Regions from separate parts of the Homo sapiens genome. Here all the other regions are linked to region 7. Evidence: promoter capture Hi-C in 16 types of primary human blood cells and fetal thymus (Javierre and others, 2016). All regions are on one chromosome and are shown on one strand. Each heading gives the region's core, a stretch centred on a gene start or on the middle of the fragment in contact. The rest is flanking DNA. Distances are from core to core; before and after follow the strand shown. Region 1 overlaps AHI1 (Abelson helper integration site 1). Region 2 overlaps HBS1L (HBS1 like translational GTPase). Region 3 overlaps HBS1L (HBS1 like translational GTPase). Region 4 holds the start of ALDH8A1 (aldehyde dehydrogenase 8 family member A1). Region 5 overlaps AHI1 (Abelson helper integration site 1). Region 6 overlaps AHI1 (Abelson helper integration site 1). Region 7 holds the start of MYB (MYB proto-oncogene, transcription factor).

What was found. Contacts are between HindIII fragments. The CHiCAGO score rates a contact against its expected background, and 5 or more counts as called.
Region 1: a fragment that was not itself captured here is called in contact with the fragment with the promoter of MYB in region 7 in 2 of 17 cell types (erythroblasts and megakaryocytes); the score reaches 5.4 in erythroblasts.
Region 2: a fragment that was not itself captured here is called in contact with the fragment with the promoter of MYB in region 7 in 5 of 17 cell types (activated CD4 T cells, total CD8 T cells, naive CD4 T cells and 2 more); the score reaches 7.9 in activated CD4 T cells.
Region 3: a fragment that was not itself captured here is called in contact with the fragment with the promoter of MYB in region 7 in 6 of 17 cell types (activated CD4 T cells, total CD8 T cells, fetal thymus and 3 more); the score reaches 5.8 in activated CD4 T cells.
Region 4: a contact is called between the fragment with the promoter of ALDH8A1 here and the fragment with the promoter of MYB in region 7, in 13 of 17 cell types (total CD4 T cells, activated CD4 T cells, naive CD4 T cells and 10 more). The highest score is 18.2, in total CD4 T cells.
Region 5: a contact is called between a fragment that was not itself captured here and the fragment with the promoter of MYB in region 7, in 1 of 17 cell types (megakaryocytes). The highest score is 5.8, in megakaryocytes.
Region 6: a fragment that was not itself captured here is called in contact with the fragment with the promoter of MYB in region 7 in 8 of 17 cell types (megakaryocytes, erythroblasts, fetal thymus and 5 more); the score reaches 21.3 in megakaryocytes.

The regions. Positions count from the first base shown.
Region 1 is chr6:135,396,064-135,399,414 of GRCh38, forward strand. The region is part of intron 22 of AHI1 (Abelson helper integration site 1); the gene reads right to left. Among named protein-coding and RNA genes, the nearest start is that of AHI1, 100 kb to the right of the region's middle. The HindIII fragment of the contact is 3,714 bases long and covers 1-3,255 here.
Region 2 is chr6:134,974,276-134,977,852 of GRCh38, forward strand. All of the region lies in intron 15 of HBS1L (HBS1 like translational GTPase), which reads right to left. Among named protein-coding and RNA genes, the nearest start is that of MIR3662, 3.4 kb to the right of the region's middle. The HindIII fragment of the contact is 3,307 bases long and covers 1-3,222 here.
Region 3 is chr6:134,991,053-134,994,706 of GRCh38, forward strand. HBS1L (HBS1 like translational GTPase) reads right to left here. Exons shown (of 18, transcript NM_006620.4): 8 at 2,706-2,823. Among named protein-coding and RNA genes, the nearest start is that of MIR3662, 13 kb to the left of the region's middle. The HindIII fragment of the contact is 583 bases long and covers 1,725-2,307 here.
Region 4 is chr6:134,948,527-134,951,907 of GRCh38, forward strand. It overlaps ALDH8A1 (aldehyde dehydrogenase 8 family member A1), which reads right to left and starts at 1,575. Exons shown (of 7, transcript NM_022568.4): 1 at 1,390-1,575. The coding sequence starts at 1,527. The HindIII fragment of the contact is 9,755 bases long and covers 1-3,381 here.
Region 5 is chr6:135,379,361-135,383,011 of GRCh38, forward strand. The region is part of intron 23 of AHI1 (Abelson helper integration site 1); the gene reads right to left. Among named protein-coding and RNA genes, the nearest start is that of AHI1, 120 kb to the right of the region's middle. The HindIII fragment of the contact is 1,121 bases long and covers 743-1,863 here.
Region 6 is chr6:135,426,100-135,429,478 of GRCh38, forward strand. It overlaps AHI1 (Abelson helper integration site 1), which reads right to left. Exons shown (of 29, transcript NM_001134831.2): 19 at 2,530-2,660; 20 at 1,068-1,208. Among named protein-coding and RNA genes, the nearest start is that of AHI1, 70 kb to the right of the region's middle. RefSeq lists a silencer at 1-38. The HindIII fragment of the contact is 4,672 bases long and covers 1-3,379 here.
Region 7 is chr6:135,179,244-135,182,604 of GRCh38, forward strand. MYB (MYB proto-oncogene, transcription factor) reads left to right here and starts at 2,065. Exons shown (of 16, transcript NM_001130173.2): 1 at 2,065-2,293. The coding sequence starts at 2,271. RefSeq lists silencers at 1,184-1,293, 1,734-1,783, 1,854-2,073, 2,134-2,183, 3,233-3,312. The HindIII fragment of the contact is 5,797 bases long and covers 1-3,361 here.

The DNA.
Region 1 (3,351 bases), core at 149-2,648, 220 kb after region 7:
TTTCTCTTAGAGCAGAGTTAGCAAATTCAGTGAAAAAGTCAATTAAGACCATATGTTAATATGGTTTTAAAGTAACTAAACTATTATGTCATCTCAATAAAAAATAAAAGTATTTTCCAAAGTAGTTGGGGGGGTCAAATACCACATCAGTCCTAAAATATCACCCAGCTTTAAAAATTCTATCAAAATCCATTAAATACAGATCAAAACTGACCAGTTATAGTGATACAATACCTAAAACAACAAACTCATTTGATATCTTTGAGCTTCACTTTCCATCTTTAAATGGAGATAAGAAAAATAATATCTATACTTCAATGCGAATGTGCCAGGAAAGCAATAATGATGAACGGGTATCATAAAGTGCTATTCATATGTTAACCATAAAGCACTAATGAACATTAAATAAGAAATAGATTAAATAGAATATCTTGGCAAGGGCAAACCATAAAGTAGTATACAAATAAGGTGTTATATTAGTTATTATTAACATCACTAGAAGTAAGGGTAATTAGGTATTTATGATGTCATATGATGATGTAGCCAATTTTTCAGAGTTCTGTGCTTTCAAATGGAAAAGAACATATTTATCACTTAACTATTTAATTCACTTCTTTTTGGAATCATTTCTCAGTTTTACTTCCTGAAAATTTTTATCTTAAAATCAAGTAATGCATTTAAAAATCTGGTGCAAACAAACAGGTGTATGCTGGAGAAATGAAGATATATCTATATACACACACATCTTTGCACACACACACACCTACATATATCCATATCTATAGATATAGATATATCTATAGATACACACAATAGCCATTTATAGTCTTCTTCTTCAGAAATTTGTGTTAAAAACAAAAAATACCTGGAAAGTTAAAATAGGATACTTAAATGCCTCTGTTCAAACAGAAAGACTTGTCATTCTTTTACAACAAAATTTTTTTTTAAAAAACCTGTAATCTATAATTATATGTTCTTCCTAAACATTTTTATAATTCTGATCTTTCTTGACATAGTTTTTTACAGACTATTCAAATGTCCATAAAGTGATGAGAGCAGCAACGTAACAGAGCAGATAATTTCTAAAGTTTGGGGTAACTGTTAATTATTACTGTTATTATTAGATATTTGTTTTGAAATTAGAACTCAAATCATTTTCAAAGCAAGCTCGTACATATTTATTATTCCATTTAGAGGAAGAAAAATAATAATAACCATTAAATAGAGTGAAGCAATATCTATTTTTGAAATATGTGCTGCGGAAAAGAATTGCTTAATAATTTTACAACAACAGAAAGGTTGGTTAAGATAGTCTACCCTACACCAATCTACCCTCTTTTCACAACACCCTTTTCTGTTTGCTTCATGCAAAAACCACAGTCTGCCAAAGTCAGTTTAATACCTCCATATTGGAGAAAACTAAAAGCATAAAAATTTAATGAAATTCATAATAAAGAAAAAAAATCATCTGGAACTTCTGCCAAGTTAATCATAAAACTGTTTTGCCTACTCTTTTAGGGTATAAGCAGACAAGCAAAATATGCAAATACTAATTCTCTAGACGGGGGTTAATTTTCATGTTAAAAAACTTGCTGCTCTGAACATGAAATTGAATGCACAATATTAAGCAAGCTGACAATTAGTTTCTCTTTTAGTGATTAGTTAAAATTTAAAACCTTTGGGAGATATATAGTACTCATTTCCATGTATACTTACAAGTCTACCCTTTTAGCTAATTTTAGATAACACGCTACATTCACCTGAAGAATTGTTTATGAAGTTTCAAGCTGTGATGATATCATATCTCAAGTTGGTTTTAAATTATAACCGAAAGAATGTTAATGCTGTCTGTATACTTAAAAGTTCACAAATTCATCTCTCTCCCAGACAGCTGTCATATTTTTCCACTAATATGAATAATAATGCAGATAATATTTTAATCTGATGGCAGTTCTGGTGGCATTAGAAAAAAAGAAACCAATAATACCCAGGATGTTTTTTTTTTTTTTTTTTTTTTGCAAATCATGTATCTGTTGTAAAAATTAAAATATCAGTATTAAAGAAAAAGTTAAACAGAAAACTTGAGCCAAAGTGAGGTTCAAGATATTTGAAGTCAGGTATCTTTTACATTCTCATAATATAAATTTTAAGAGTAGCTTATGCTCTTGTGATTTCTAGCTTAGTAAAGTCTAAGCAATGAGTAGTCTATGGTATTATAAAGAGCAATTCAAATATGACCCCTCAGTCCTCAGATGTTTTCTTTACAAGCCAGGACAGAGAAGTGAAGGATTTGGAAGACAACACTGTAACTGTTAAAGAAAAATTTCTACAGCAATAAGATACCAGAAAAATCTTACCCCCAAACCAGTTCATTACTACTACATTAGCTAAAACCAGTATTCAAATTTGAATCAGTCACTATAAAGTTTTTTGGTTATATTTAATCGTGATTTTTGACCCTCTGATAGGTACCAAGGACTGGTGGTTCACAGATTACTGATATGACACTTTCATGTCAATTTCAAAATTAAGATCTAGTCCTGGCTCAAACCAATTATCCAGCAATATTCTTTAGGGTAAAGCAATTTACCTCAATGCATCTTGGTTTTCTCAAAACCTTTACCTCCTTTTCTCTCTTAGTTCACTGCCTTGCTTCACAGAGAAAATTTGGTCTTGAACCCCTGAACTTCTCATTTCCAAACTTATGAAAGAATGGACCTCTCCCACCTATCCTTATGTCTTTACTTCTAGGGTTAGAGGAAGAGGAGCATTCTGTTCAAGATTCATCCCTCAGTCCCCTTAGGGTTATCCTTAAAGCTCTTCCAAATTCTACCTTCAGGCCAGGCCCAACGACTAATGCTTATAATCCCAGCAATTTGGGAGGCTGAGGCAGGAGGATCACTTGAGTCCAAGAGTTCAAGACCAGCCTGGGCAACACAGTGAGACCTCATCTCTACAAAAAAATAAAAAATTAGCTGGGCGTGGCAGTGCACACCTGTGGTCTCAGCTACCCAGGAGGCTGAGGCAGGAGAACTGCTTAAGTCCAGAAGGTCGAGGCTGCATTGAGCTGTGATGATGCTACTGCACTCAGCTTGGGTGACAGGGAAGACCCTGCTTCAAAACGAAAAATTCTACTTTCGAATTCCTACTGGCTATTTCCCTGCAGGTTAGAAGCATAGACCCTTCTATTTTAGTACAAAAACAAAGAGGAAACAAACCAACTAAAACTCTCCCTCTGATTCCGTTACTTCCTTAAGCTTCGTTAAAAGCTAAACTCCTTGAAAAACAGCACACAACTGCAATCCATATATCTGAATCCTTCAGTCTTCAACCGGGTACAACAAAGCTTGT
Region 2 (3,577 bases), core at 319-2,818, 210 kb before region 7:
ACAACAACAAAAAAGCTCAGGGCCAGATGGATCCATAGCCAAATTCTACCAGACATTCAAAGAAATAATACCAATCCTACTGAAACTATTAAAAGACTGAGAAAGAGAGAATCTTCTCTAACTCATTCCATAAAGCCAGTATCATCACCCTGATAACAAAACCAGGAAAGGACATAACAAAAAAAGAAAGCTACAGACCAACACCCCTGATAAACACAGATGCAAAAATCCCTAACAAAATACTAGCAAACCAAGTCCAACAGCATATCCAAAAGACATTTTATCATGATCAAGGAGGTTTCCTCCCAAGGATGCAGGAATGGTTCAGCATATGCAAGTCAATAAATGTGATTCACCACTGAAACAATTAAAAGCAAAAAAAAAACAGATGATCATCTCAATAGATGCGGAAAAAGCACTAGATAAAATCCAGGATCCCTTAATGATAAAATGTTCAATAAACTAGGCAAAGAGGAAACATACCTCAAAATAATAAAAGCCACATATGACAAACCCACAGCCAACATCATACTAAATGGGGAAAAGTTGAAAGCATTCCCCCTAAGAACTGAAACAAGACAAGGATGTTCACTCTCATCACTTCTATTAAACACAGTACTGGAAGTCCTAGCCAGAGCAATCAGGCAAGAGAAAGAAATCAAGGGCATCCAAATTGGAAAAGAGTAAGTCAAACTATCTCTGTTTGCCAATGATATAATTACATACCTAAAAAATCCTAAAGATTCCTCCCAAACAACACCTAGATTTGATAAATGAATTCAGTAAAGTCTCAGGTTACAAAATCAATGTACACAAATCAGTAGCACCAACAACGATCAAGCTGAGAATCAAATCAAGAACAAGAACTTAATCCCTTTTACAATAGCTACAAAACCAACCAACCAACCCACCTAGGAATGTACTTAGCCAAGGAGGTGAAAGATCTCTTACAAGGAGAACTACAAAACACAGCTGAAAGAAATCATGGATGACAAATGAACAGAGATACATCCCATGCTCATGAATTGGAAGAATCAATATCATGGAAGAGACCACATTGCCCAATCTACAGATTTGGTGCAAATCCTGTCAAAATACTAACATCATTTTCCACAAGATTAGAAAAAACAATCCTAAAATTCATATGGAACCCAAAAAGAGCCCAATTAGCCAAAGCAGTCCTAAGCAAAAAGAGCAAATCTGGAGGCATCACACTACCCTACTTCAAATTATACTACAGGCTATAATAACCAAAACAGCATGGTACTAGTATAAAGGTAGATTCATAGACCAATGCAACAGAATAGAGAACCCAGAAACAAAGCCAAATACTTAACAACCAACTAATCTTTGACAAGGCATGCAAAAACATAAATTGGGGAAAGGACACCCTATTCAATGGATGGTGCTGGGAAAATGGATGGTGCTGGATAGCTACATATGGAAGAACGAAAACTGGATTCCTATCTCTCACTACATGCAAGAGTTAACTCAAGAGGGACTTGGATCTAGGAACTGAAACCATGGAAATTCTGGAGGAAAACCTGGGAGAGGTTCTTCTGGACATTGGCCTAGGTAAGAATTTATGACTAAGACCCCCAAAGCAGATTCAACGGAAATAAAAATAAATAGATAAGACCTAATTAAGCTAAAGAGCTAGTGCACAGCAAAGAAATCCTGAACATAGTAAACAGACAATCCACAGAATGGAAGAAAATATTTGCAAACTATGCATCTGACAGGACTAGTATCCAGAATCTACAAAAGACTCAAATCAGCAAGAAAAAAAAGCAAACAATTCCATCAGGAAATGGGCAAGTGACATGAGCAGACACTTCTCAAAAGAAGACATACAAATGGCCAAGAAACATATGAAAAAATGCTCAACATCATTAATCATCGAGGAAGTACAAATCAAAGCCACAATGGGATACCACCTTACTCCAGCCAGAATGGCCATTATTAAAAAGTCAAAAAACAATAGATGTTGCCCTGTATGCGATGAAGAAGGGAACACTTGTGCACTGCTGGTAGGAATGTGGATTGGTATAGCCTCTGAGGAAAACAGAACAGAGATTTCTCAAAGAACGAAAAGTAGATCTACCAGTTGATCCAGCAGTCTCACTACTGGGTATCTACCCAAAGGAAAATAAGTCATTATATCAAAAAGATACTTGAATGCATGTTTATCACAGCACAATTTACAGTTGCAAGAATGTGGAACCAACCTAAGTGCCCATCAACCAATGAGTGGATAGAGAAAACGTATATGTACACCATGGAATACTACTCAGCCATACAAGGGTAGAGATAGTGTGTTTTGCAGCAACTTGGATAGGGCTGGAGGATATTATTCTAAGAGAAGTAACTTAGGAATGAAAAACCAAATAGCATATGTGCTTACTTAAAAGTGGGAGCTAAGCTATGGGTACACAAAGACATACAGAACAGTATAGGGGACACTGGAGACTCAGTAGCGGGTAGGGCTTGAAGGGGGTGAGGGATAAGAAACTACATCTTGGGTACAATATACACTACTTGGGTGATGGGTGCACTAAAATCTTAGATTTCACCATTATACAATTTATCCATGTAATCAAAAACCACTAGTTGGTAAAAAGAAGTAAAAAGAAAATTGACAAATAAATAAAAAACAAAGGAAAAAATTACTTGTACCCAAAAGCTACTGAAATAGAGTTTCCCATACAAAATAGGGAAAATTTAAATATATTTATGTAGTATTATGGCATTAGTCCCTAAACAGTAAAATTTTAATAGCTTAGGAAACCTTTGTTTGCTTAAAAAATTTTTTTTCAAGTTTTTCTCCCATAGGGAGTAGACTGACAAAATATGGCCATATTTTTCTGAAACAAATTTGATCCTGGTATTTCTGAATCAATATATGCTGGCAGAATCTCCTAAAGCAACAGTGAAAAACTTGCAATTCATGCTTATTTTTAAGAAACTACAGTAGTCAGGGAGACAGTATTACTATTCAAAGTCACTTCTGACCTCTTCATCCCTCTACCTCTCCATTGGCAAATATTATTATTGCATGAGTAAAAATATGCAGTAACCAACCCCTCCTTTGCCTCATAGGACATACTGCTTTCTGTGAATGAGTTCCATTCGCTCACAACAATTAACTTGTTGTTACTTGATGATCAATACATGAATTCTGAATATTTAAGTATCTTCAACTATAGCAATTTTTTTAAAAGAAGCTTTTCTTTTCTAGTGTATGGAAGAAATGGAATATAATTATGTAAGTAAAGTACCTAAATAGTACCTTAAAATATAATTTTACATGATCAAATTAATATAGAAATAATTACAAAGAATTATAAAGTACAAGGTTATCTCAAATATAGGTGTATCAGTATAAATGACCCAAATAAATGTATTGCCAACCTCTAAACCACTATCACTAACTTTAAAAACTCTTACTTTTATTTCAAAGATGCATCAAATGGTAGAAACATCACTGAGAAACATTTATTGTCATGCAGAATCTGTACTATATGAGCTAATTAGAAAAAAAAGTCTAATGGGAAAAATGGTCATCTGTCACGTGACA
Region 3 (3,654 bases), core at 766-3,265, 190 kb before region 7:
ACTCACAGACATACACACACACACACACACATATACACATATAAGGAGAAATCAAAACTATATTGTATTCTTTGGTAAATGCAATGAGAAGTACAGTTTCCCTAAGTATCAGTGAGGGATTGGTTCCAGACCTCCCAACACCCATGGATACCAAAATCTATGAATGCTTAAGTCCCTTATACAAAACAGGGTAGCCTTTGCATATAGCCTACACACTTCCTCTTACACACTTTAAATTATCTCTAGATTATGTGTAATACCTAATACAATGCCTACACATCACTTCCTTTGCATGGATTCAACACAGTACTCAGTGTGTGGCAAATTCAAATTTTGCTTTTTGGAACTTTGTGGAATTTGTCCCCCCCAAATATTCCAATCCACAGTTGACTGAATCCGTAAATGCAAAATCCATGCACATGGAGGAATGACTGTATACTAATTTAAAATGGTGATAATATACACTTCCTAGAGTTGTTATAAAGATTATATTAAACTGAATGCATGTAATACCTAATACAGTATCTGGTCCACATTAGGTACTCAATTAATAGGGATAATTACTTTATTTCAATCTTTTATCACATTCAGTCCATGAATCTTGAATTAATATTCTAAAATTACATGTCAACTTTCTAAAATAGTATCAAAAAATTCTTATCTTCAAATATATTATAATGTATTCATACAATATCCTTTTTGGTTAACAAATGTTCATGTTAAAATTCTCTTTTTGGCTGGGCACAGTGGCTCATGCCTGTAATCCCAACACTTTGGGAGGCTGAGGTGGGGATTGCTTGAGCCCAGGATTTCAAGACCAGCATGGGCAATACAGTGAGATCCCATCTTTACAAAAAACTAAAAAATTAGCCAGGCATGGTGGCACATGCCTGCAGTCCCAGCTACTCAGGAGGCTGGGGTGAGAGGATCCCTTGAGCCCGGGAAGTTGTGGATGCAGTGACTGGTGACTGTGCCACTGCACTCCAGCCTGGGCTACAGAGTGAGACTCTGTCTCAAAAAATTAATATTTTAATGAGTAGATCCCAGAAAACGGGTAATTGCTTGAAGTCATGTTTTTGCCATGTAACAGAGTCAAGTTATTTTAACTCTTCATGTTTTCCAGTAATCATCCATTATGAAAGAAATCAATGTCCTATATATGCAGTGCTATTTTCATTGCTTTAATAATTTAAAGTTACGGTGATGCACAGCATAATGACGTTTTGGTCAACCATGGACCGCATACGTGATGGTGGTCCCATAAGATTATAATGGAGCTGAAAAACTCCCATTGCCTGGTGATGTCATAGTCGCCATAATGTCATAGCACCATGCATTACTCATGTATCTGTGATGATACTGGTATAAACAAATCTACTGCGCTGCCAATTGTATAAAAGAATATAGCATATGCAATTATGTATAGTACTTTATAATGATAATTATGATAGTGGTTTATGTACTTACTATTTTTCACTTCTGATGATCCTGATCCTGTGTAGGCCTAGGCTAATGTGCGTATTTGTGTCTTTGTTTTTCACCAAAAAAAGTTTAAAGTAAAAAATACATATTAAAAAAAGCTTATGGAATAAGACTATACAGAAAGAAAATATTTTCGTACAGCTGTACAACGTTTGTGCTTTAAGCTAAGTGTTATTATAAGAGAGTCAGAAAGTTAAAAAAAATTTAAATGTTTATAAAGTAAAAAAAGCTACAGTAAGCTAAGCTTAATTTACTATTAAAGAAAAACATATTTTTAAATAAATGTAGTGTCCCCTGAGTGTACAGTGTTTGTAAAGTATACAGTCGTGTCCTAGGCCTTCACATTCACTCACTGAATCACCCAGAGCAACTTCCAGTCCTGCGAGCTCCATTCATGGTAAGTGCCCTATACAGGTGTACCATTTTTTATCTTTTATGCCCTATTTTTACTGTACCTTTTCTATGATATGCTTAGATCAGTTTAGATACACAAATATTTACCACTGTGCCACAACTGCTTACAGTATTCAATACAGTAATATGTTATACATGTTTGTTGCCTTGGAACTATAGGTTCCATGTAGCCTAGGTGTATAAAAGATGTTACCATCCAGATTTGTGTAAGTAAACTCAAATATGTTCACAAATGATGAAACTGCCTAACAACTCACTTCTCAGAATATTTCCTTATCATTAAGGGATGTATGAATGCAAATTATATTTGATTTTTTGCAGTATTCTTATTAAGAATCATGTAATTTACAAATTGCAATGCTTTTTTAATATTATAAAGAAAGTAAATAAACCACTGGGCGAAAATACCCAAGCTTCATTATTTCTGCATAAACAAGCTCTTTAAAAAGATATAGAACTTGAATATATTGAAAGACATAAGGCAGATTTTGAAATACTCAGGCCAACTTATCAATAAAGGAAATATGAAGCTATACTCATCAAGTCCTTTACCATTACTTTTACGATAAAGAAACTCATAGCTTTTATACATTTTGTTTCTTTGTAAGAAATTTTAAAAGGTTTTACAAAGTACAGGTAGAAAGATCATGAAAAATACAATATTGCTCTTTTTGTTCAAGCTTTATAAAGGTTAAAATTTTTAATTTTAAAATATTTTAAAAGTCAAAATCCTAGAATTGTAACCTCAGCATCAGAAAATTTTATGTAAAGTACAATCAGCACACTATAGTGAAGAAAACAGCAGTTACCTGGGCTGCTCCTGTAATCATATTTGGAATGAAGTCCTTATGGCCTGGAGCATCCATTAATGTAATAACTTTGGTTGTGGTTTCAAACTTTGTCATACCAACATCCATGGTTACTCCCCTTAAACAAAACATAACATGGTTAGAATGTACGATATAAATAGTGCTATAGAGTAAATTAATAATAGTCTACATGACCATCTACATTCTTAGGTAAAAATGGAAATTGTTTTTATAGACTATTATTTTTGAATAATTAAATTATCAATCGGGGCTGGAATTTCTGCTATAATAGAAGTGCATCCATATGGTTTTAACATAAAAGGGAGGACAAAGTAAGAGCTCAATAAAAATGATAGTTATGCCCTATTATCTTATTTGTTTTGTAAGAAATAGTGTAAATTGTGAAGAAGGATACATGGGGACAACTCTAAATGGGGGGAAAATACTGCATATGAGAAAAGACAAATGCAAAATTACCACGACCGAGAGGTAATTTTCTTCACGTTCTACACTTATGCTTCACTAATTATAGAAATGAGCTTATAAAACTTAATTTGCAAGGCTGGTTAATATGCTACATATTTAGAAAACATAAGATATCAAAGCAGATGCCTAATTTTTAAAAAACAGAGATAGATGAACAGCAGATTGCTTTGTATCCTATTTAATTCTTCCTGGAGACCAACATAGTGCCTTTTTTCAGCCACAAAAATGTAGATTCAGATTAGTGAAATGCTTGGGACTAGAAGCTTTTCAAATTACAGACTTTTTTGGACTTGGAATATTTGCATATACAAAATGAGGTATCTTGGGGATGGGACCCACATCTAAACACAAAATTCCTTTGTTTCATATACACATTATACACATAGCCTGAAGGGAATCTTATGCAACATTTTCAGTCATTTTGTGTGACCTGTCACATGAGATCAGATGTAGAATGTTTCAC
Region 4 (3,381 bases), core at 325-2,824, 230 kb before region 7:
TTTTTGTTAAAAAAGGGCTTAATGACTGCAAAGCACAAAGCAAAAGTTGAATAAACGGGAGCCACTGTTAGCAGCACCAGCAACATTTTCCTGAGTGATGTTTTGGAAATTGGACATGCAGTTTGTATGGTAACCATATTTTTCAAGCCGGAAAAAACTATGACTTATGGGATCAGATAGGATATTTGGAAGTTGGATTGCTGAGAAACTGAACATATCTATTACTCTACTAGCTAGCGCATCCATAGCTCATTCTATTTTCTAAAAAGTTATGAGCCATTAGCTGCAGGAAATATTTCAGCTGAATTTGGCATGTTTGTCATTTTTAACTTCACTTTGGCAAACAAGGAAGAGTGGAAAACACAAAGCTGGATTTCCCAGAGCTGTGTTAAGTCATTTGAAGCAAACAAAATTGCAGTTTATAATTTAACCAATGCATTAACCAACATTTGCAAACATTAATCCCTAAGTCTGAAGGTTTACTTTAAATGCAAGACAGATTTGAAGTATTAACAAAAAAGAAAAAAAATAGCAATGTTCTTAAAAAAAAACTTTGCATGGAATATATATTTTTATAGGAAGACTATATTTTAAATAATCTAGTTATTTGTGCCTTAAAAAGAATAAATTATAATTCATAAGGCATTAGATGACTATATATACATCAGCTACATTTACCACTTCAGATATATTTACATTCTCAGTGCAATAATTGATAGCTAATCAAATATATCTCAAATATTTTACAAAATTCTCCAAGTAAAATTAATTCTACATCACCAAAAAAATGTAATGCATATGCCATTAAACACTTTGGATAAGAAAAAAGACGCTGTTAAATCTAACTCCAAAAATATATGGGAATTTGATTTTGAGTTTCATCATTCAAATGATTGATTTTATTTTACTAGGTATTTTGAAGACATGACAAATTATGAGAAGACAATCTAAAACAAAGCCCACAGTTTTTTGCTTGTTTGTTTATTTTAGTAAAGCTATACTTTTTTTTTAATTCCATGGATATAGTGGTAAATTTAAGCAGTGCGTGGTGGAGAAAAGGGAATATTTAACAAAGTGATAGCTCTTACAAATAATACTTTGTACTAGACACTGATTAGGAAATGTTTGAGAATTGCAAAAAAAAACTGCACACAGGGCTGTGTTAGGTTGGCTAGAAAAATGACTTACTTTCTGCATATAGGAAGAGATTTGTTCTAGGTATCATACAGTCCAGTTACAAGGTACATCTTCTGAGAACTAGAATCTTCCTTCTATCATGTTTAACAATCCTACATCTTCCCCCAACTCCCTCTGCTTTTAGAAAACTGTTACCCATAATTGGCCAACATATTAAACACATTTCAGTCTTCTTTAAGTGCATATACTCACCTCGTCTTTTCCACTATTTGGCACTCTGCAATACACTTCCCCTGTTGATGGGTCGTAAGAATCTATATATGAGCTACAAGGTAAAAATTTTCCATCTATGAAGTTTTCCAGCATCAAAAGTGCGTTTGTTCCAGCCATAGCAAGGAAAAATTCTGCCTTTCCTCTTTACGACTGAGCACTCAGGTTGTCCCCACCACTGTCTGGACTCCTGAGTGAGCCTCCCCCTTCCCAGCCCCCATCTTCCCCTTTACCAATCAGTGAATGTGGGAGGGCACCTGACGCTCTCAGAGAGCATTCCAGTCTCCAAACTCAGAACTAAGAGAGTGGCTGAATGTTTCACAGACTTCTAGTACATTACCTGACATGGATAATTGTGTGTAAAAGTAACAGCTACTTACTTATGTGTTCATAGCCCTTTAAATCATCAGAAGGCATCTGTGCATGTGATTTTATTGGGTTCACACCGTAAACTGTTCATTGCTCAAACACTGATTGGATGCCAGGCCCCAAAGCAAGTCCTTTACATGAATTTACTCGTTTATTCCACACAACAATCCTATATGAAGTAACCATTACTTCCTCTCTTTTATAGAAGAAACTGAGCCTTGGAGAGGTTAGACCATTTTTCCAAGGTCACATAGTTAGCAGGGGATGAACTGTAGCCCTTTAATCTCCAAATCATATACTTTTTCCTCAATGCATCACTGCTTACCCTGCAGAGGTAACTGAAGACAGATGCCCTCTTTCCGTGGCTCATCTGTGTTTCTTTACCTTGGCTGCCCTCTCTTGGAAGAGCTGTCTCTCCATCCCAAAACCGGGGCCACAGTGGCTGCTCACATCTTCCTAGATGTGCCATGGAGATAAAGACAAGCCAAAAACATGTGTGACACATATAGCAAGGGCTTCAGATCCCTGATGTAGCTGAGAATTTCTACAAATTGGTAAGAGAAATGAGCACCCCAACAGAAAAGATAAGCAAAGATACAAAAAAGCAATCCATAGGAAAAGGAACACAATTGGCTAATGAATATATTAACAATGTTCAGCCTTGTTGTTAAGCAAGGAATGTGAAATACAGAGGTGGCCTGATTTGCCAATCATACTGGAGAGCATTTTTAAAGATTGAGAACATCTACTCTGTGAGGATGTGGAGAATCATCCCTAGTCCATAGGCGGGAGGGTTCACAGAACACTGCTTGGGGCAATTTGTCAGGGTCTGGTCAATTTCTCTTCTAGGAATCTCTCCTACAGAATTACGTGCTCATGAACAAGTACATAAGTCACAGGACATCCTTTTTTATCATAATTTAAAAATCAAAACAACCTAAAGTCCATCAATTGGAGAATATTAGAGTATAATTGTTATATTCTTAACAGGGAATACTACTTAGACATTAGAAGGATGCATTGTTAAGTGAAAAAATAAAACTAGTGAATAATATATACAGCATAGTTTCTTTGGCTATTTACATGGTTGACAGGAAGCCGTTTTAAACTGCTTGGATATTTTATGGCAAGCCTATATTACTTTTATAATTATGATTTATAGTTATAATTCAGTTGAAGGTTAGGTACCAATATTCTAAAATTCATTGATCACATGAGGGCACTTGCTGGCCGTGCACCTCCTTAGGCCCTCTCTGCTTCCATCTTTATTGGTCTCTAGATATTCTCCAAAATTCTTGCTGAGACTTCTGACAAGCATGGTGTGGCTGATTCTGGGAGGCCCAGAGCAGCTGGAGTCTGGAGCTGGCGCCGTTGCCTGTCGCTGGAGAGTCGCTGACAGGGACTGGAGACAGAAGGTAGTCTCAGGCTTTTTCTGGTGCTGCCCACGGTCAGGTCAGCTGGAAACAGAATGAGAGAAATACGCAGGTCCCAGCCCTGGCACCACAGAGTGAAGTACCAAGAAGTGAGCTTGGTGCTGAGAGACAGTGAGTACCACCCGGTGTGTGCATAAAGACTTCTGTAGCCCATCTTCCTGGGTCTCCAACA
Region 5 (3,651 bases), core at 53-2,552, 200 kb after region 7:
TCTTACTTCAACCCCCTTCTCCTACCTCAATTATTAAATCACCTTTTAACTGGCCTTCCTAGCTGTAATGCCCTAACACCTTTTATGATTCTTCTCATCTTACAATTAGTTCACATACTGTCTTCTCTATGAGGCCTTATTGTCTTCTTTAACACAGAATTTGTTACTATATCATCTGCATTCTCTAGTACACTTTGTTCATTCCTTTTACAGCAAATATCAAACTATGCAATCCCATCTACCTACCTATTTAAAAATAGGTTTCCAGTGAATACTAGCAGTGCTAGGGATGGGGCTGAGTTCTGCACTTCATTCCTACAAGGTTCTGTACAATCTGGGCCTGCTGCTACCTCTCTGAACTTACTGTTTTCTACTCTCCTCCTTGTTCCCTCCAATCTAGCTATACTGACCTCTTTGCTGTTCAAAATGCATACCAAGTACATTCCTGTTTCAGGATCTTGGATGGGGATGCTATTCTCCCAAACAACTTACAGCTTCCTAGCTTCCTTCCTTCCTAGCTTCCTTTTTTCCAAGCTCCCTTCCCTTTCCTTCCTTCCTTCCTCCCTCCCTCCCCCAACTCCCTCCCTCCTTCCCCTTCTCCCTCCCTCCCTCCCCTTCACCCTCTCCCTCCCTCCCCTTCCCCTCTTCCTCCCTCCTTCCTTCCTTCCTTCCTCCCTCCCTCCCTCTCTTTCTTCTTCTTTGTCGTCATCTGAATTTTGCTTAATTCTCAGCTACTTTGTGAAGCTTTCCTTGACCACTCCATTTAAACAGCAACCCAACCCTACTCCTCAGGTGCAACTCCCTTCCCTGCTTTGTCGTTATAATGTTTTTATTTAACAGCCCTCTGCATCCATGGGTTCTGCATCCACGCATTCAACCAACCATGGATTGAAACTATTCAGAAAAGAAATGCATCTGTAATGAACACATAGACTTTTTTCTTGTCATTATTCCCTATACAATACGGGACAACTATTTATACAGCATTTACATTGTATTAGGTATTATAAGTAATCTAGAGATTATTTAAAGTATATAGGAGGATGTACACAGGCAATATCCAAATACTGTCCATTTTATATTGGGGACTTGAGCATCCAAGGACCTTGCTATCTACAAAGGGTCGTAAAACCAACTACCCAGATACTGAGGGATAACCAGACTACATTTGCTTAATGTCATTCTCCACTAGAAGGTAAGCTACACAAAGATGTGGAGTTTTACCAGTTTTGTTCACTGATACGTTCAGAGCATGTATAAAAGTGCCTGGGACACTGTAAGTATGCACTGGGTACTTACTGAATGTATAAATGCTCTTGCATTCCCAGTACCTGCATGTGTACAAATTAAACATCTTTTTAAGTAAAATAACCCCCCCCCCCCCAAAAAAAAAGTACAAAGTTAAAACAAGAAGGGATTTAATGGTGGAAAACATTTTTTGGTCCATTACATTGGTATGGTATTGAGAATGTGAGATGGTGTGAACCCATTTTTTCCAGGTCTTTCCATAAAAGAGACATTTTAAGTTCTAGGGAAAACTTTTAAATTTAAACTTTGAACATAAGCATGATGATTTAGAAAAAGATTTTCATATCCAAAGCAAAGAGAAGTTATTTTTAAAAATATGCTTATTATGTTATTTTTTCCCTGCAGTAGTTCAGTGAACATTAAGCACATTAATTTGCCTGTTATATGTGCATTTATATCTGCCTTTTACATTAGCTTTTAAAGTGTTTTACTTTCAACTCTTCATTAAATCTTCACTTCAAAATCAGACTAAAAAGACTGAGATAACATTATGCCTCATAATGTCACTACTGAAGAAGGGAAAAAAAAAGGAAAAGTGGACTCCCACAAAAAACAAGCTTCACTGATTCTAAGTTGGCCAAAACAAAACACCTGTTCATGCCCTATATTTCTCAGACAAATTTAACAGCAATGAGATGTAAAAGACTTGATTCCTTTTAAAAAAAGTGGCAAGTATACACAATAACACATATACATACAAACACCCATATAGACATTAATATGAAATACAAACACACCCACATAGACATTAATATGAAATAAACTGGAGTCCTACTAAGCATAAACTCACTTATTCTCAGAATGCCGTAAGATCCTTGGGAGGCAGATTTGAAGAAAGCATACTAAGATCATTATATGACTTGTGACACATGAGCCTTACAAAAGGCCAGCAACGAAATCCAGATTCTGAGTTCTAAGCTATCATTTAGAGAACTCCAAAATAGATGATACTGTTGTATACTGCATGGGCAAGATAAATTTCTAAACAAGGCCATAAAACTAAGTGCACTTTATAAGGATGATACATGTAATCGGACTTACTCTCCCCTCTGTGCTGCCACAGTGTTTTATACGCATGCCCTGTTGAATTTACCACCATCATATTATAACTATTTCTTTGCCTGCTGGACTCCCCAGATAGACTGGAAAGCCTCTGAGGGCTTTCATCTTCCATTTCTCGCAGTGCTTGGCAGAGTCTCTGTTACATAGTAGGCTCTCCATAAACAATGCTTGATGAAATGCTTCAATTAACTTTTGAAAATATTAAAAATGTTTTTATTTTTTAAACTGAATAACAGTTTTCATTAGAGTACTTCTATTAAAATGTGTTATTTCTGGTTCTTCTCAAAAAAAGGATGGAAACCAGTTAGAAATCATTCTTAACTTTTATTCCTTATGAATTACAGTTGAATGTTTTCTTAGAGAAAGTTGAGGAAAAAAGTAAATTGTCTGAAATAAGAACAATGTTCCACTTTTTACTTATTAACCATTTATAACACAAAAATCTCTTACATTGTTTAAAAAAAAATGACCAGTCACGCATATAGTCATTTGTCACTTTCCGTATTTCTCAGTAACTTTGCTCTCACACTGGTAGGCAAGTTGCTGACTAAGAACAACACAGTGATTCTTTACATTTTCATTCACTTTTCATTCAAGGAAAAGGCTTCTTAAAAATGTGCATTTAAAATTCTAGAAAATACAAATCAACATTATCTCTAAGTCTCTATCATTACCAGAAGGTCTGGTTCCTAAACCTAATTTCCATTGTTAGTTAACATCTTCAATAAGTGATGGATATTCATTTCCAGAAAACATTACCAGTAAATTCTATTATATCACAGACTGTTCACTATCCAGACCAAACTGACTAAACCACAAAATGCAAAAGTATGCACTTCACTTCTCTAAGGGAAACCTTAGGGCTATTCTGAGTATAGTTTTAGCAGATTATGACCTAAGGGTAAATGAGAGCTTAATTAGATAGCCTCCTTCTGAATTTCCAGAGCTTTCAGTAGACACAAACTAAAATGTTTAAAAACTAAAAATTTCTTGTCACAGATTTAATTTTTTAAAAAGTTACTCTGAGACATAAGGATTTACAAAGGAAATAAAAAAAACTGTTATTTTTGTGATACAAGTGCTATTTCATTTTTCCCCCAGAGGAGGAAACATGAAGAGCTGCTTGCTTGGTTCCAGGCGGTGCCCATCCTAAGCAAAATTAGTAAAAAAAAAAAAAAAAAAAAAAAAAAAAAAAAATATATATATATATATATATATATATATACATATAAAATAATAATAATTTTTTAAAAATTGGATCACTTACCACAGAATCACAGA
Region 6 (3,379 bases), core at 653-3,152, 250 kb after region 7:
TGAAACTAGACACCAGATTTGGACATTGAATGATTTGAGGAATCCATCTATTTTTTCCTATAATCAGGCAGTGTTTATCTTTGCTAATGTCTGCTTGTAATAGTAAATGGTACTGTGTTGCTTGGCAATTCTACCATTACTAACAGTGTTCTATAAATCTGAGTATGCATTGCAGAAATGATTTCTTCTCTATAAAATTCTTTAAAATAAGATTACATTTTGACTTTACACATTATTTTCTAGCATAATTTACCCTGGAAGGCATAATATAATCCACACTGTGATCAAGAACTTCAGATTTCTAACTTAATTGCCTAATTACTTAGTATTTATCACAACCATTAATCAATTCAATCTATATTAACTTAATACACTTAACTTTCCATAAGCAAATCAAAGAAACTAACAAAGACTTTTCATTTTTGTACAATACTATATGAAGAAAATAGAAATGCAATTTTGAGAATGACAGCACTAATAGTATAATATAGAAGAGTGGAATCCTAATTTCAGGATAGAAATTAAAGAAATATATGAAAACCAGCATATATCCAAAGAATTCTTAGAATACCATACTGTCCCTGAAAAATAATGTATCCACACTTTTTATTTCCTTATTATTTCTCAGAATGATAGAATAGTGTAATTGCGGACACGAAAGACATTAGATTTCTAATTCCAGGTGATGTTTTCACTGATGTGATTTTCCCCCTACTTTTTATGTTAAGAAACTCTCAAAACTACAATTTATTAAAACTATGTGCTTTAGTAACAACACAGGATAAAATATTAACTCAACAGTCAACTGAAAACATCAAAGATCTGTATTCCCTAAGTTTTATTTACCTTTTAAATTTAGTTAACATATTCCAAATAATTTTTAGGTGAATTCTATTTACTTAAATTGATTTACAAAGAAACTTGTGGCTAGCTTTCTGTGATTCCAACATAAGGGCACAATTATTATGTGTACTTTTGTCAACATTTGAATTCCAGACAGATTCCTGGTTTAGTCTAAATGTAAAGGTTACTCTAAAAATTCTTTACTTATCAAGTGGTAGACTTACCATGGAAATCGTAAATATACAGAAGAATTGGCTCATTTTGCCCAAATGCACAGAATGCAACCATATTTTCAAATGGATGATAAGAAATGTCTCGAATGGGTGACTTGAATGGCAAGTCAGAATACATGGCTACTTGTTCTCCTAAATAAAAAGAGAGATTCAAAAATGTATATCAGAGCATATCTGTATCGATAAATCTTCTCACAAGATTATTCTGCCATTTATTAGAAAATATTTATAGCAATGATGCTCACATTATTTATGTGAAAACCTCAAATATTTAAAAATGTTTGAGTAACAATGTATTAAATTATCTTTATTTTACATTCCACTGACCCTCCTCCTTCTACTTTCTACCTCTTCAATGAGGTTTTCAAGGCACAAAATAAAGACAAAGGGCACAGACGGAAGTAGAGAGGTATATGACTCTAAGATTGGAGATTGGACAGAGCTAAGCAAACTCCAAATGACAGAGAACTCTGGGTAGAACTACAGGAGAAATTACAGGACTCTAAAACTAAAGAAACTCTAGTTGGGTGAGCTTTGGTGAAGGATTAACTTTTCCATTTTTTTTTTCCCAGATGCTGTTTGAGGTACCCATTTGCTTGAAAGATACCTATGACTATGGCCTAAAAGATGTCTAAAGTAGAGATCTGTGGAATCCAGGAAAATCAGTCAGGAGTCAAAAAGCAAAGAATCTAGATTCATTTATTGAAGGCGAGACTTGTTGCTACTGAATTGATGCTAAAGCATCAAAACACGGTACAGGAAACAAACAATCAAACAAAAACCTAAGTTACCTGACTAGTCAAAATGCCTAACAGAAAGAATAAAAAAAAAACAAGGAAAAAATCAAATACTGTTCATTAAAGAAATTTTAAAGTTAGTTTTATGAAACTCTCTCAATTTCTTATTAAAAACATTCATGTAGCTTTAGCTTTTCTTTTGAAAAGCAAAGGTGAGGCACAAGTGAGCTTCCCAATGTAATTGTTTATTGGAAAAAAACTGAACTGCAGTATTTCAGGCAACTTGCTATTTAAGTTTCAGACATCAAAACTTTCACAGGTATGTTTCCGTTACTAATGAAAATATAGATGTTTAACAATTTGTCTACCTAATCATATTCCAAATTCAGCTTGTAACATTTTGTACTTTGTGTTAGCCTCCATTAAACGCTTTTCTAAGATCAGCAATGTCTCATTATAGGCCATGAAAGAACAAACCTTGAATTATAATGTGAAATTCTAAATCCATAAAGATATTAAAGCAATAGAGAACAAAATTTAATACAAGTTTAGACTGTAGCTGAGTTCCTTTAAAGGCTTTCTAATCTTAAAAAACATAATTGAAAACCCAAAATCAGAATTTCCTTGAAAATTATTCCATAAAATGGTAGAATTTTCACACTTCTTCAAACCCCTGTACCTCCCCAAATGATTTTTAAAGTTCAATAAACATTCACCTGTTTCTGGGTTCCAAACATACACTATACCATCCTCACTTCCAGCAAACAGAAAAGTCCCACATGGAGTCAAAGTACTATGAATCTTCTCCCGATAATTTGCTGCTCCTACAAACTTCCTTGCTACTAATCTACAAGCAAAAAAGATTTTACAAATGTAACTGTCTTAATCATGTAAATGACTGGTGGTATAAAATCTTTTCTCTTAAATACTTAATTTCCATTCAACAAACATTTTTTGAGAATCTGCCATATGGGAGACATTCTATAATATAATGGATGCAGAATAAAGGAGAGCTAGTCCCAAGAGCCCAGGGAGTTTATAATTTAGCAAGAGAGGAGAAACATGTCAACGTAAAATAGAAGGTGGATGTAGAACATACTGCAAAAGAAAAACAGAAGAGTTCTTTTCAAACTTGGACAAGAGAAATTAATTCTAGCTATAGAGCAAGAGAGACTACTTTATGGAAGTAGCATTTGAGCTGGTTACTAAACTAATGGATAGAATTTTTATACTCATATATTCTTCTGATGAATTTTTAAAATAATACAAGGAATATTTGATCTCTGAAAAAAAATTAGATAAAACATATTATTAAACCATCTGCTAAATATGGTACATAGCCTTCCATATTTTTTCACTCACGAAAAAATAGTAAACACCATTTCAGCACACACTTTGTGCCAGGTAAGTATTATTATCATCTCTAACATCAAACAAAAGTGCACTAGAAGTCCATGTTGATTTTCCCAGAACACTGCTTCCACCTTTTTCAGGAAGGATATTTCCCTACATTTGCGATTATTTGGAAATAAACAAAAAAACAAGGACATATAAATCAAAAGCCCT
Region 7 (3,361 bases), core at 815-3,314:
TCCAACATTAGCCTAATAAAATTACTGCATGTGAATTCTTTATTGGACTATGCATATTCCCAAACATATTATTGTCATACAACTGAGGGAAAAATGTAAAACTATATCTGGGAAATGAAAAATTATAAATTCTCAAAATGATACATAGGAAAATGATTTACAAAGAAAAAAAGGAAAACTGAACTTAGTATCTTTCTACTTTAAAGGGGTTCAAGAACTTAGGAGTAGTTACACACCTCCTAAAATCTTGAAAAAGAGGCTATGAACTCACTTCACAAAGGGTTCAGATACTCACATTGTGTCCAAGAGACTCAGCAATTGGGAATCTTGCCAGTTAGATTCATAAAGCAATCCGAAAGCCAGAATGCAATTTCTTTAGGGGTGGTTTCTAGATGTTTATTCTAGATATTTTTAAAAGATTTTGTTTATTTTTGATGTGAAGAAAGAAAATTATTATAGAATCTAGAAATAAATATTGGCTTTAAAAGTATTAATTTGCCTTGTCCTTTGTAATTGTGATCCGAAATATCTCACAATAATTTTGTTTCAGTGTTATTTTCTTCTCAGGAGGAAAGGAATGTTAAAACCTTACTAGCAACTAACACTTGATAAAGATTTAAACTATATAACAATTTTAAAGAAAGTCTAAAACACCAGATAGTCTTGAAACCTCGCATGCTTCACCGTTTAATAAAATTATGACTCATTTTAGTAAGAACATGCTTTTTTAGTAAGAAAAAATGCTTTCTGAGCTAAGTTTGAACTGCTGGGGCACATGGGACACCCACAAACCCAGTCAGCAGAAGTCTCAAACTCCTAAAAGATTAAAGGAAAAATACATTAGTGTGTACAGAGAATGAAAAAAAAATCCCCAATGGTTCTAATCTATAAACGGAAGTAAAACTAAAACTCCCCTAAAATCCCCCCAGTCATCAATCCTTATAAATTCAGCACTTATCTTCTTCCTTTACTTCTGGAGACCCTCATTAAACAACACGAAAGCCTTTGCTGACTTTTATCTCGTAAAATAGAGCCCTCAAATGACACTAAGCAGGGATACCGACCTCCAAAATCACAAACTGTTTTACTTCTAAAACCATGCATGCAAACGTGGGGTTTCCTGAGTTCTGCTAGGGGCGGGCTGTCTGGACCCCCGTGTATTTTTTTTTTTTTTTTTTTTTTTTTTTTTTTTTTGCAGGTGTGCAATCCAGGGTGCGCGCTCTGTGCAGGGAGGGGAGCAAAGGTGTGCGGTGGGCACCGCCTGGGCCGGGCGGGGCGGGGTGGGTGGGGCCCGGGTGTGTGCTGGGGTGAGAGTGAAGGACATGTGACAATACGACGGTGGCGGCTGCAGGATCCGGGAGGGGAGTGAAAGCTCCGCTGGGGCGCTCCATTAGTGAGCGGTGATGGTTGCCGCCCACTTGTATTGAAGCGTCCTTTGTCACTAACAAGTTAAATTAGAGATGTTATTTATTTAAGAAGAAGGAAAAAAAACCCTAGCCAAACAGCCTATGAATACATATGCTCACATCCCCTACTCCTCCAACTCCTAATTTCCCCGTCTCCAGAGGGCACAGTTGTAAACCTTGACGAAAATCCAATCTTCTGTGCGGGAATTTCCCCCCACCGCTTGCCGCCCCCGCGACAGTGAGTGGGAGCTGGAGGAGCTCTGGTCCCGCTGCCCGGGAGCACGCGGAGCCGGGCGACCGCGGTGCGGCAGCCAGGGAGGAGGGGAGGCGGCGGGACTGGGCGCGGGTCGGCGCCGCCGCGACCCGGGAGCGGGGTTTGCTCAGGAAAAGGCGCCGTCGCGGCCCCCGGCCACCCCTCCCTGGCCCCGGGCTCCCTGCCCGCGCGCCTCCCGGGCCTCGCGGCGCGCTAGGCGCACCGCGGCGGCGCGAGCGCCGAATGGGAGCGGCGACCCGGCCAGCCCGGCAGCCCCGCGGGCGGCAGCCAGGGCGACCGCGGAGGCGGCGGGCAGGGCGCGTGCGCACTGCAGGGGCGCCAGATTTGGCGGGAGGGGGAGTGTCCAAAGCTCTTTGTTTGATGGCATCTCTGTTTACAGAGTTTACACTTTAATATCAACCTGTTTCCTCCTCCTCCTTCTCCTCCTCCTCCGTGACCTCCTCCTCCTCTTTCTCCTGAGAAACTTCGCCCCAGCGGTGCGGAGCGCCGCTGCGCAGCCGGGGAGGGACGCAGGCAGGCGGCGGGCAGCGGGAGGCGGCAGCCCGGTGCGGTCCCCGCGGCTCTCGGCGGAGCCCCGCGCCCGCCGCGCCATGGCCCGAAGACCCCGGCACAGGTAACGGGGAGCCGGGCGGGCGGCCGAGGGCGGGGGCGCGCGGGGGCGCGCGGGGCGCCAGGCTCCCGGGAGCAGGTGGGAATTCGTTCCGGGATCATCTGAGGGGCTGTCAGACCCTCCGAGGACCTGGAGCCCCTGCCTCGGCAGCAGAAGCCGCTCCAGAGACTGATGAATGGAAGAGTCTTTGCGGGAAATGTATCCGGACGTTGGGAAGCACGCCCTGCGGCTCATTTTGCAAGTTGCATGGGGATACATTTTTCTTTAGGGGGAAAAAGAAAGCACGTTCCAGCCGAGGGCAGAGCGGTGCCCACCAGCCCCGGGGAGCCCACCAGGTGCCTGGCTTGATGCCGCGGGTGTCGGCGAGGGATCCGCAGCGTAATTGCTGGATGCATTGAGATATGTTTGGACTTGGAAGTGCAGAGCATATGGCAGATACAGGGAAAATGCTGGATTGTTTAGTAGCTGCAGGTAGTTCATTTAAATTTCATTCATTCTTTATGGAGGCGAGGACCAGTGTCAGCTGACAGGCGGCTGAAAAGCAGATTTTAGGGGGATAAAGGGGTCTCTACTTTTGCAAATTGTCTTAAGACCTGGTTTTGGAGGTTCGAATCATTTTTCTCTGAAAGGCTTTTACTTCCACTGCAAACATTGCACGCGCACCCACACGCGCCGCCGTCGCACATGTCACTGCACTTAGGGAGGCTCGCCGGGAAGATGGGTGCAGTCCCTTCACATTTTTGGCCGGACAGATGGGAAGAGGGAGAGGAGGAGGAGGAGGGAAATCCTCGTCCGAACTGTCAGTTGCTCGTTCCCCAGTCTCCACCGGCCTCTGGACTTTCCCAGCAGCACACGCCGGGGCTCCCTGCGAGCGGCGGGTGCCAGGGCTAGCTCGGCAGCCGTCGCAGTCGCCACTCGGCTCAAGGGGACAGAGGCCGGCAGCACCCAAGGCCGCTGCCGCGCAACCGGGACGCGATCCCCGCGGGCTCTGCCCCCAGGCGAAAGGTCCCTGCGCGGCGCGCACACGTGGATGCGGCTGAGGTCGCCGCGCCTTCTCGCACCCTCCTTCAG